3 separate regions of the Homo sapiens genome follow, and regions 2 and 3 are each linked to region 1. The links are contacts of gene promoters, found by promoter capture Hi-C in blood cells and fetal thymus (Javierre and others, 2016). All regions are on one chromosome and are shown on one strand. The core of a region is centred on a gene start or on the middle of the fragment in contact, and the rest is flanking DNA. Distances in the headings are between cores, read along the strand shown. Region 1 holds the start of GAP43 (growth associated protein 43). Region 2 overlaps ZBTB20 (zinc finger and BTB domain containing 20). Region 3 overlaps ZBTB20 (zinc finger and BTB domain containing 20).

The links. Contacts are between HindIII fragments. The CHiCAGO score rates a contact against its expected background, and 5 or more counts as called.
Region 2: a contact is called between a fragment that was not itself captured here and the fragment with the promoter of GAP43 in region 1, in 1 of 17 cell types (total B cells). The highest score is 5.5, in total B cells.
Region 3: a fragment that was not itself captured here is called in contact with the fragment with the promoter of GAP43 in region 1 in 1 of 17 cell types (total B cells); the score reaches 6.3 in total B cells.

What each region holds. Positions count from the first base shown.
Region 1 is chr3:115,622,093-115,624,885 of GRCh38, reverse strand. GAP43 (growth associated protein 43) reads right to left here and starts at 1,376. Exons shown (of 3, transcript NM_002045.4): 1 at 1,167-1,376. The coding sequence starts at 1,196. The HindIII fragment of the contact is 1,952 bases long and covers 95-2,046 here.
Region 2 is chr3:115,050,433-115,053,225 of GRCh38, reverse strand. The region is part of intron 2 of ZBTB20 (zinc finger and BTB domain containing 20); the gene reads left to right. Among named protein-coding and RNA genes, the nearest start is that of ZBTB20-AS4, 49 kb to the left of the region's middle. The HindIII fragment of the contact is 1,533 bases long and covers 608-2,140 here.
Region 3 is chr3:115,092,468-115,095,260 of GRCh38, reverse strand. The region is part of intron 1 of ZBTB20 (zinc finger and BTB domain containing 20); the gene reads left to right. Among named protein-coding and RNA genes, the nearest start is that of ZBTB20-AS4, 6.6 kb to the left of the region's middle. The HindIII fragment of the contact is 314 bases long and covers 1,275-1,588 here.

The DNA of each region.
Region 1 (2,793 bases), core at 127-2,626:
GCATACGCACACACTCACCCGTATCCCACACCCATTTTTCTCTTTAACCTTTGCCAAAATCACTCAAATGCATTCCAACAAATGTTTGAAAGCTTCTTTTGGAGACTGCCATGGCATGGTCGGTTGCTGCGGAATACCACACTCGTCATTCCTTCCCACTCTCACCCCAATCAAGTTTCTAAAATGTCTTTCAAGAAATAAGCGAGCAATTGGAAATGGCTGTAAAACCTGGGCAGTGGGGGAGGGAAGGAGGGGCTCTGATTCTTGCTAATCTTGGATGTGTCCCTCTTCCTGATGAAAATGAGTCACCATACTTATTATCCAGGATGTTAGCCTGTCTCTGGTCACTGACAATCCCAGGAAAGAAGCAAGGGAAGGGGATAAGAGAAAAGACCTGGTTTCCAACAGGTAATACCCGGCTGTCTTTCCCATCCCATCGGAGCTCCTAGGGGCGTGGTCCACCCTCTCCTCCGACCAGCTGGTGCACAATCGGCTGCTGATCTTAGGAAGGGGATTTTCTCCTTCTGCATGGCCAATTTCTCCCCCAGCCCCAGTTGTCTTAGCTTCTCTTAAAAAAAAAAAAAATCTATCAAATCACAGTTTCATTCATTCATTGAAAAATAAATACTAAATAAATAAGACCTGCACGTTTTTCCATAAATACCTGCGCCCCTTCGAAGCTCATGCATGCACGAAATAAGGCATCTTCCGCAGCACATGTGAGAAAATTGTATGACAGAGAGGCAATACTCAGTTCTGAATATTATTTCCTCAACCCTGCTTTTTTGCAAATAATATAAAGAAATGCCTCCCCATCTTGTAGGTAGAGCCCACATCATCTCCCCCACACCCCTTTCTACGTCCACACCCTCAAGACCAGAGACCTCAAATGCTGAGCATTCACTAATAAGAAAAAAAAAAATTATTTCTAGCCAAACAGGCATGTTTTTTCTACCCTCACCCTAATTAGTAGCAGCATTCCAAAACCAGAGCATGAAAGACAGAAAAGAATAAAAGCTGGGATGCAACCATCAGTTACCATATGCTAAGGAAGCGCGAGCACCACGGCCAGAGCAGAAGCAGTAAAAAAATTGTTTGCCTTTACGGGGAAATACTGTACTCGGGTTATTTCACAACAGCAAGAAGTAAAAAATCTTTAGCTCTACCTGTTTGGTTCTTCTCATACAGCACAGCATGGTTGTCTCGTCCCTTGCCTTCTTCCTGCCTTCTCTCCTTTCCTTCTCTCTCTTTCTTATTCCCCCCCTCTCCACCTCTTTTCTGCTCGCTTGCTCACTCGCTCTCTCGCGCTAGCGCGCTCTCTCTCCCTCCCTCCCTCTCTCTCCCTCACACACACCAGGGCAGTTAGCAGCAACTGTAAGGTCCACAGCTATTGCTCATCGCACATGCTCGCTCCCTCTCTCTAGCGCTCTCTCTCTCTCTCCCTCTCTCTCTGGTGCTCTCTCTCCGCTGTCCTCTCTTCCCTCTCTTCTCCTTTTTTCTCCTTCCCCCCAATATCTATCTATCTGTCTTTTTCTTCCCTCTCTCTCCGTCTCTTTCTCGGAATTGTTCTCTAGCCTTCAGTGACTAATCACTTCCCCCAGCCCCTACCCCCATTCTAGACAGTCGCCCCCTCCCAGTCCCCTGCCAGCCTCATGAATATTTAAACACCTCCAATCTGGACCCAATTACCCACCGACTTTTCCACTGCATTGAGAGGGTGATGGGGTGGGGGCAGAGAAGGATATTCCAGTCAATCCAGGAGATATGATAGAGCATGTTTTAGGGAAGAGGGGCTTGAGGAATCCTTGTATTTCTTTAAGAACTCTTTTCCTCTTTTCCTAGTATTATAAAAGCAAAGAACAGCTATTTCTAAAGAGGAATTGTAGTCAGTCCTATACAATATAAGTCATATCTGCCATTACATTTTATGCATAGTTAATAATTGTGGAGGTTAATTTCCCTCAAAAAATGAAATAACATGTAAATATCATACACTGTTTATATATTCTTCTCAGTATACATATAACCTGAAATAAATACAAAGCTTAGATATGCACAAGCATATTTTATATATGTTCCAATATCCTGGAAAAAAATCCACATAAATATATTGCATTTTAAACATTCTAAGCACTTGAGCTCAGAAATAATAAACAATGTTTAAGAATTGGCATCCATATCTAAAATCACATGGTAGTTTTTTGTTTTTTCCTTAATGCACATATACCTGTTTGTAAATTGTGGTTTCTTCTAATTTTACTGAAAAAGCTGAGCACATTCAAACAGGTCTGTGTAATATTGACGGTGATCAAAATGATATTTTACAATTTGGGCATGAGAGATTAAAGTGAATTCATCTGAGATGAGAAGAAACGATAAGTCATGAAGCCTACTTCTTGAATTCCTTCTATGGCCTTTCATAATTTTGGGGGAGGAACATGTGACTCTTAAAGTGTGTATAGCACAATTTTTAGTTATTTATTGTTGAATGAGTTTGAGTGTGTTACTGAAGCTCTTTGCACCTAATTTTCTCATCTTTAAAATGGAGATAATAATGCCAATCTTGACAACATGTTTTGAGGACTAAATGATATAACGCATGCAAAGCACAACAGTCTCTCTGAGTGTATAATAGCTTTACTCCAGAGACTGTACTTTTCTGAAATTCGGGTGACATTTGCAAGTGAATATCTCAAAGAAGTTTTCAAACTATTTCTTGTTGTTCATTAGTGATGACAAGTACCCCTAATTAAACAGCTCATATTCTTCATAGTCCCTCCTAGACCTCCTAGA
Region 2 (2,793 bases), core at 125-2,624, 570 kb after region 1:
CCAATGTGTTACATCTTTTAAAGGGATAGATCAAATGCTTTAAAGTCGTTATTTCTCATTTGGATTCACAGGAAAACAACATAGGCTTTGTTTTGTACTTCTTTATCTGTGGTTAACAATATTTAGTTCAGGGGGAATTACTGTTCTTGAAAGGGGAGCTAAAATGGCTAAACCACAACAGAGAGAGTTATAGGCAGTGATGTCAGCATTCAGATTAGCCTTTACTGTGGACTTTACTGAAGAGTACAAAAAACTGAATGACCAGAGAGTTTGATTAGCTATAAACGTTTTTTGAAATTAATTAAAAATTCAATTAAAGAATGAAAATTATTATTACTAAAAACAATTCAAACATGAAAATTTTTACAGTGCTCATTTTGCAGTGATGGGATTCTGAATAATTTTATCTTCTGAAATTTCTAGCTTTTTGCATTTTCTGAGTCTCCTATAATAGCATTTACAGTTTATAGTGAAAATTAGATATACCTCAAACATTATAACAAAACTCTCAGTAATTTAAATTTATGATTTCTTAAATTAGCTCACTTTTGTGTCTGTGTGTGTGTTTGTAGGATAATCAGTGATAGGAATGAAAACTTGACAAGCTTCTTCCTGAACAAGATATTTGTCTTTTAGTTAAACTTTGCAGGAGGAAAGATGACGAATTTCCATTTATTAGTGCAATATAATTATAATCTCATCTCTTTAACTCTGTATTTCTTTAGTATACAAGATAGTACTGTGGTCTAGTCACTTTTTTTTTTTCCATGAGAAAGCGTCTCACTCCATTACCTAGGTTGGAGTGCACCGGTGCAATTTTGGCTCACTGCAACCTCCAACTACCTGGTTCTAGCGATTCTCCTGCCTCAGCCTCCCGAGTAGCTGGGATTACAGGCATGCACCACCATGCCCAGCTAATTTTTGTATTTTTAGTAGAGACAGGGTTTCACCATGTTGTCCAGGATTGTCTGGATCTCCTGACCTTGTGATCTGCCCGCCTCCACCTCCTAAAGTGCTGGGATTACAGGCATGAGCCACCATGCCTAACCACACTTTTATCTTTAGAAAGTTTTATTATATCATTAAATTGTGGCTAAAGTCTCATCAATTAGGATTTCACTGATATGGTTGGGCTCTGTGTCCCCACCCAAATCTCATGTTGTATTTTAATCCCCAATGTTGGGGGAGGGACTTGATGGGAGGTGATCAGATCATGGGTGCAAATTTCCCGCTTGCTGTTCTCATGATAGTGAGTGAGTTCTCACCGAGATCTGGTTGGTTAAAAGTGTGTAGCACTTCCCTCTTCATTTTCTCTCTCCTGCTCCTCCATAGTAAGCCATGCTTGCTTCCCCTTCACCTTTAAGTTTTCTGAGGCCCCCCAGGCATGCTTCCTGTACAGCCTGTGGAACTATTAAGTCAATTAATCCTCTTTTCTTCATAAACTACCCAATCAGAGGTAGTTCTTTAGAGCAGTGTGAAACTGGATGAAGACAGAAAATATAATTCTAAATTTATGATAATTGGAAAAAGAACTTGCTGAAATTTGTCTTACAAAACACGGGTTTGTCAAACACAAAGATCCTATGGCCAGCATTTCTAGAATGATTTCTCGCCAATTTAGGAAAACAAACTATTTTGAAGGTATTACTGTAACAACGTTAATTCCTGTCCCAACAATTTACTAATCAACAGCTCTTACTACCTATGAATACCTATGTATTCATTTAAAAAAGAACCTCTTAATATTAATCCTGGTCCCTATTAGCTTTAATTTGCTAGTCTCTAAACTCCTACCCATCTATCATATCAGCTTAAACATCACTTTCTCAGTGAAATCTTCTTAAGCATGTCAATTTTTTTTCCTCAGATGCTATCATGGAATCTCATTTTTCTCTCCAAAATCTATTTATAGTTATATAATAATTTTATGATTATTGATTAATGTCTGGTTCCCACAAGGCATTAGTAATATGAAAACGGAATTGTGTCTGCTTTTTTCTTCTCATTGTCACCATAGGAACTAACATACTACCCAAAATATAGTAGGACTTTAATAGTCATTTAATTATTACCTAAATGTCTGAATGAATTATTGAATGAATGTACCTAGCAAAAAAATTTAGCCAAGATACCTTAAGCTTTAAGTTTTAGTATTATAAAATTTCCGTTAAATCATTAATAATTTAAATAACAGCGTTTTGGAATTTCTGAGTATAGGAATTGAAGCTTATACCTGAAATTGAAGATTGTGCTAAAAAATGATAGATCATTATTTTAAAAACAATAGTTTGTAATTTTGTCCTCCTATGATTTTGGATTGACTTTGTTTTTCTATTGTTTCTAATAGAGTTGTAGAGTACCTTTCATCTTATTACCATCCTTTTATTATTACCCTTTTCTGTAGGGAAAACTACACAGTGATATTTTAACCATATGTCCATATCAGAGGACATATTGATCATAGCCTTTAATCAGAACTGTCATCTGCACATAAAAGTTTCGGTGAAAAGTTACCTAAGTTTACATGCCAGTTATGCCTGTATGCGTGAGATGGTATGTGACTGAATATTTATGGTAGGGATTATAGAAAGTGAAATAAAAGTTAATAAATCATTGAGAGATTCAGAGGACCCCTAGGAATGCATACATTCTTTAAAGTATCATAATTTATAAAATGTATTAAAATTATTTTTATATAAACAAACATAAAGGTGTTTGATAATATAATTCTAGTTTTGATTTCTAAGATGAAGAGAGCTTAATTCATTCACTTAATCATGTATTTATCAAATG
Region 3 (2,793 bases), core at 182-2,681, 530 kb after region 1:
GACAAGGAACAAGGACTATGAGTTCATTGATTCATCTAGTTTCCAGAGGGAAGAAGAACATATTTTTTATTAATTCTGAATATTCAGTCTTACCTTTGAAACTCTGATAGAAAATGTGGTAATTACAGCATAATATGTTTACCTTCTTGATATTGGAAGTAATTTTGTCACTGAATACTTCTGTGTCTTGAGATATGATGAATTTAATGTTCATATTATGCATTTAAAAGGTCAATCTATTTGAAAGTTTTTATATTACATTACTAATGTAAGGATTTACATTCAACAAATATAAAATTATGGTATGAGGTTGGGGTTATGGGATATCAAAAAGATAGATGCCCAATTGGTTGTAACTAAAAATGTAGAAATGGTAATAATTACGAATCTTATACATAGTAGTACTATTTTTGTTATTGGGAAAATTCTTAATTTAAACTTTTTAAAATGAAACATTTAAAATTATTTAAATTTTAATTTTCTCTAATTTTTAGAAGGCTTTACATTTTTGTTTTTTACTGAATTAGCTTAGATATTTGCCATTTTTACCTTTTCAAAAATTTTCTGTGAATTACTGTTGTAATTAAATTGTGATTTGTTGTTGCAATTCCTTTTATAGTATGAACTTCTTTCCTGTAAATGGAATGTAATTGAGAGAAAATTAATGTTGTCAGTTTGTTCAGGTAGCAACTTAAAACTTAGTTAAAAAAAAAAAAAAGCTATTACTAGCAGAAAACTAGAAATGTTCCAGGCTATGTAATTTTTCTAGTTGATATATATGTGTATGTGAAAACTATGTGGCTTCATTTTAAATAAACAAAAATATCTTATTTAGGCACCAAGACATTTAAACAGTGAGAAAATGTTCCTCTCTTTTATTATTTAAATAGACTAGGCAAATACTTTGTAATGGTGACTTTATAAATTTTTTGTTTTTTTTTCTTCTTAAATACTGGACACATTAAAATTCTTCTTGGCCCAATAAATATACTCTGGTTCTGACCATATTTACTAATTTCTCCACTTCTTGGTTACTTGTACCTATTACCTTAGCTTTAGGTAAGGCAAAAATAACTTACTTTTTATATTAGCCCTTACTTTCTCTAGTTCTCCAAATCAACAGTGATCTTTATCCCCTCACCTCATTTCTAGAAGGGAGACGACTAGAGATGATTAAGAAACAAGTAGAGAGAAGTTGAGATAATGTGAAGGGATAAAGCTGAGGGTACAGGGGTAAAGCTGAGGGTAGCTGAGGGGTTGGTGCTTTTGAAGCTTCTAAACTTAGAAGTATAATGAAATAAAAAGACTTCTTCCCTAACTCCCGTTAAAAAGCATTTGACTTATCTGTACAGCATTAGTTTTTGCATCTCTCTAAAGCAGATCTATATAAATTCCCTCTGCACTCCAAGACAGATTCCAGTGGTACCACCAAAGAAGATCATAGAAGAAAAAGTCAAAACATCTCACATTTCTAGAACATCCACTGCCAGGTTTCCTTCATACCTTTTGCCCTTTAATTCTTGGGTTCGGAGTTGTGAGCAGATTTTTATAGTTGGTGGACAGATTTCATTTGTTTTGATAAGAAGCTTTACCAACAACACATTCCCAAAACATGCCCCCAAACAGCATCACATGCTGAATTAAAATAGATGAAGTGATTAGCTGGATAAGTGTGCGTGTGTTTCCTTTTTAAAAACAAAGTCAAATAATTTGTATGAAACAAAACAAAAAGAACTTTTCTAGCAGTCTGAATGAATTCAGGTTGTTTCACATAATGGCTTTCTGAAACCATTTTTTGTATAGTAATTTTGACCAACACATCCACCTATTCCCTACCCCACTTGCTTTTTCGCTTTCTAAATGTTGGATGAATGTAATTCCTTAATATAAAAATAATTGTGTTCTTATAACACATTCAAAATATACCTATGGATATGAAGATGTGGTACGGCCTATACACAGTAGTTTCACTTATATCACCTTAGTCTGAAAATATATGAATAAAAAACATTTTTAGAAATTATTTTTCTGGTATGTTGAAAGAAACTTTATGGTGTGATACAAAAAGCATTTCCTGGGGAATCAGGAGGTATTAATCAATATCAAAAAGGATTTAAAGTGGTTAAATCTGGAGGTCTGGTTTTTTGTTCTGACTTTGTGACTTTGAGTACATCATGATCTCTCTGTCCCTCAGTTTCCTTCCTGTAAAATGAGGAGAAAGCTTTTTAAAATATTTTTTCATCTTAAAGACTGTGATTTTAAGTAGCTATATATGTAGATAATCTTGCTTGCATTTTCTATCTAAAAGTCACAAATAAATGGAGAAAAGTTAGGGTGGGTAATAAAGGAAGAATAACGGACATTTATGTGGCTTGAGAGAGCACAGGCACTTTAATTTTGTGATGATTTTTCTTAGCTTAACTACATATCATAATGTATTATTGAGTCTGTTTAATGATTGAACGAATGCCATAAACCAAAAATAGTCATTTGTCAGACAAACTGACTTAATTGCCTATGGGTGATTTGGTAAAAGGGCTGTTTTTAATGGAATGAAGTGCAGCATGGTTACTATGGCTCCACTCCTCTCCACTGGCCACTAGATGGAGAGGCGATCCGTGTCCACTGCCTTGCCAATAGCAAGCAGTTCACTTCTGACTTCCTAATGGCAAAGCTGCACTCTATGCCTTTGGACATTTCTATGAATACACACATGACATTTTGGAGAAGTCATCAGAGAATATGTCCTATTTCTATATAGGCATGATATAATATTCATGAAATGCAAAATAC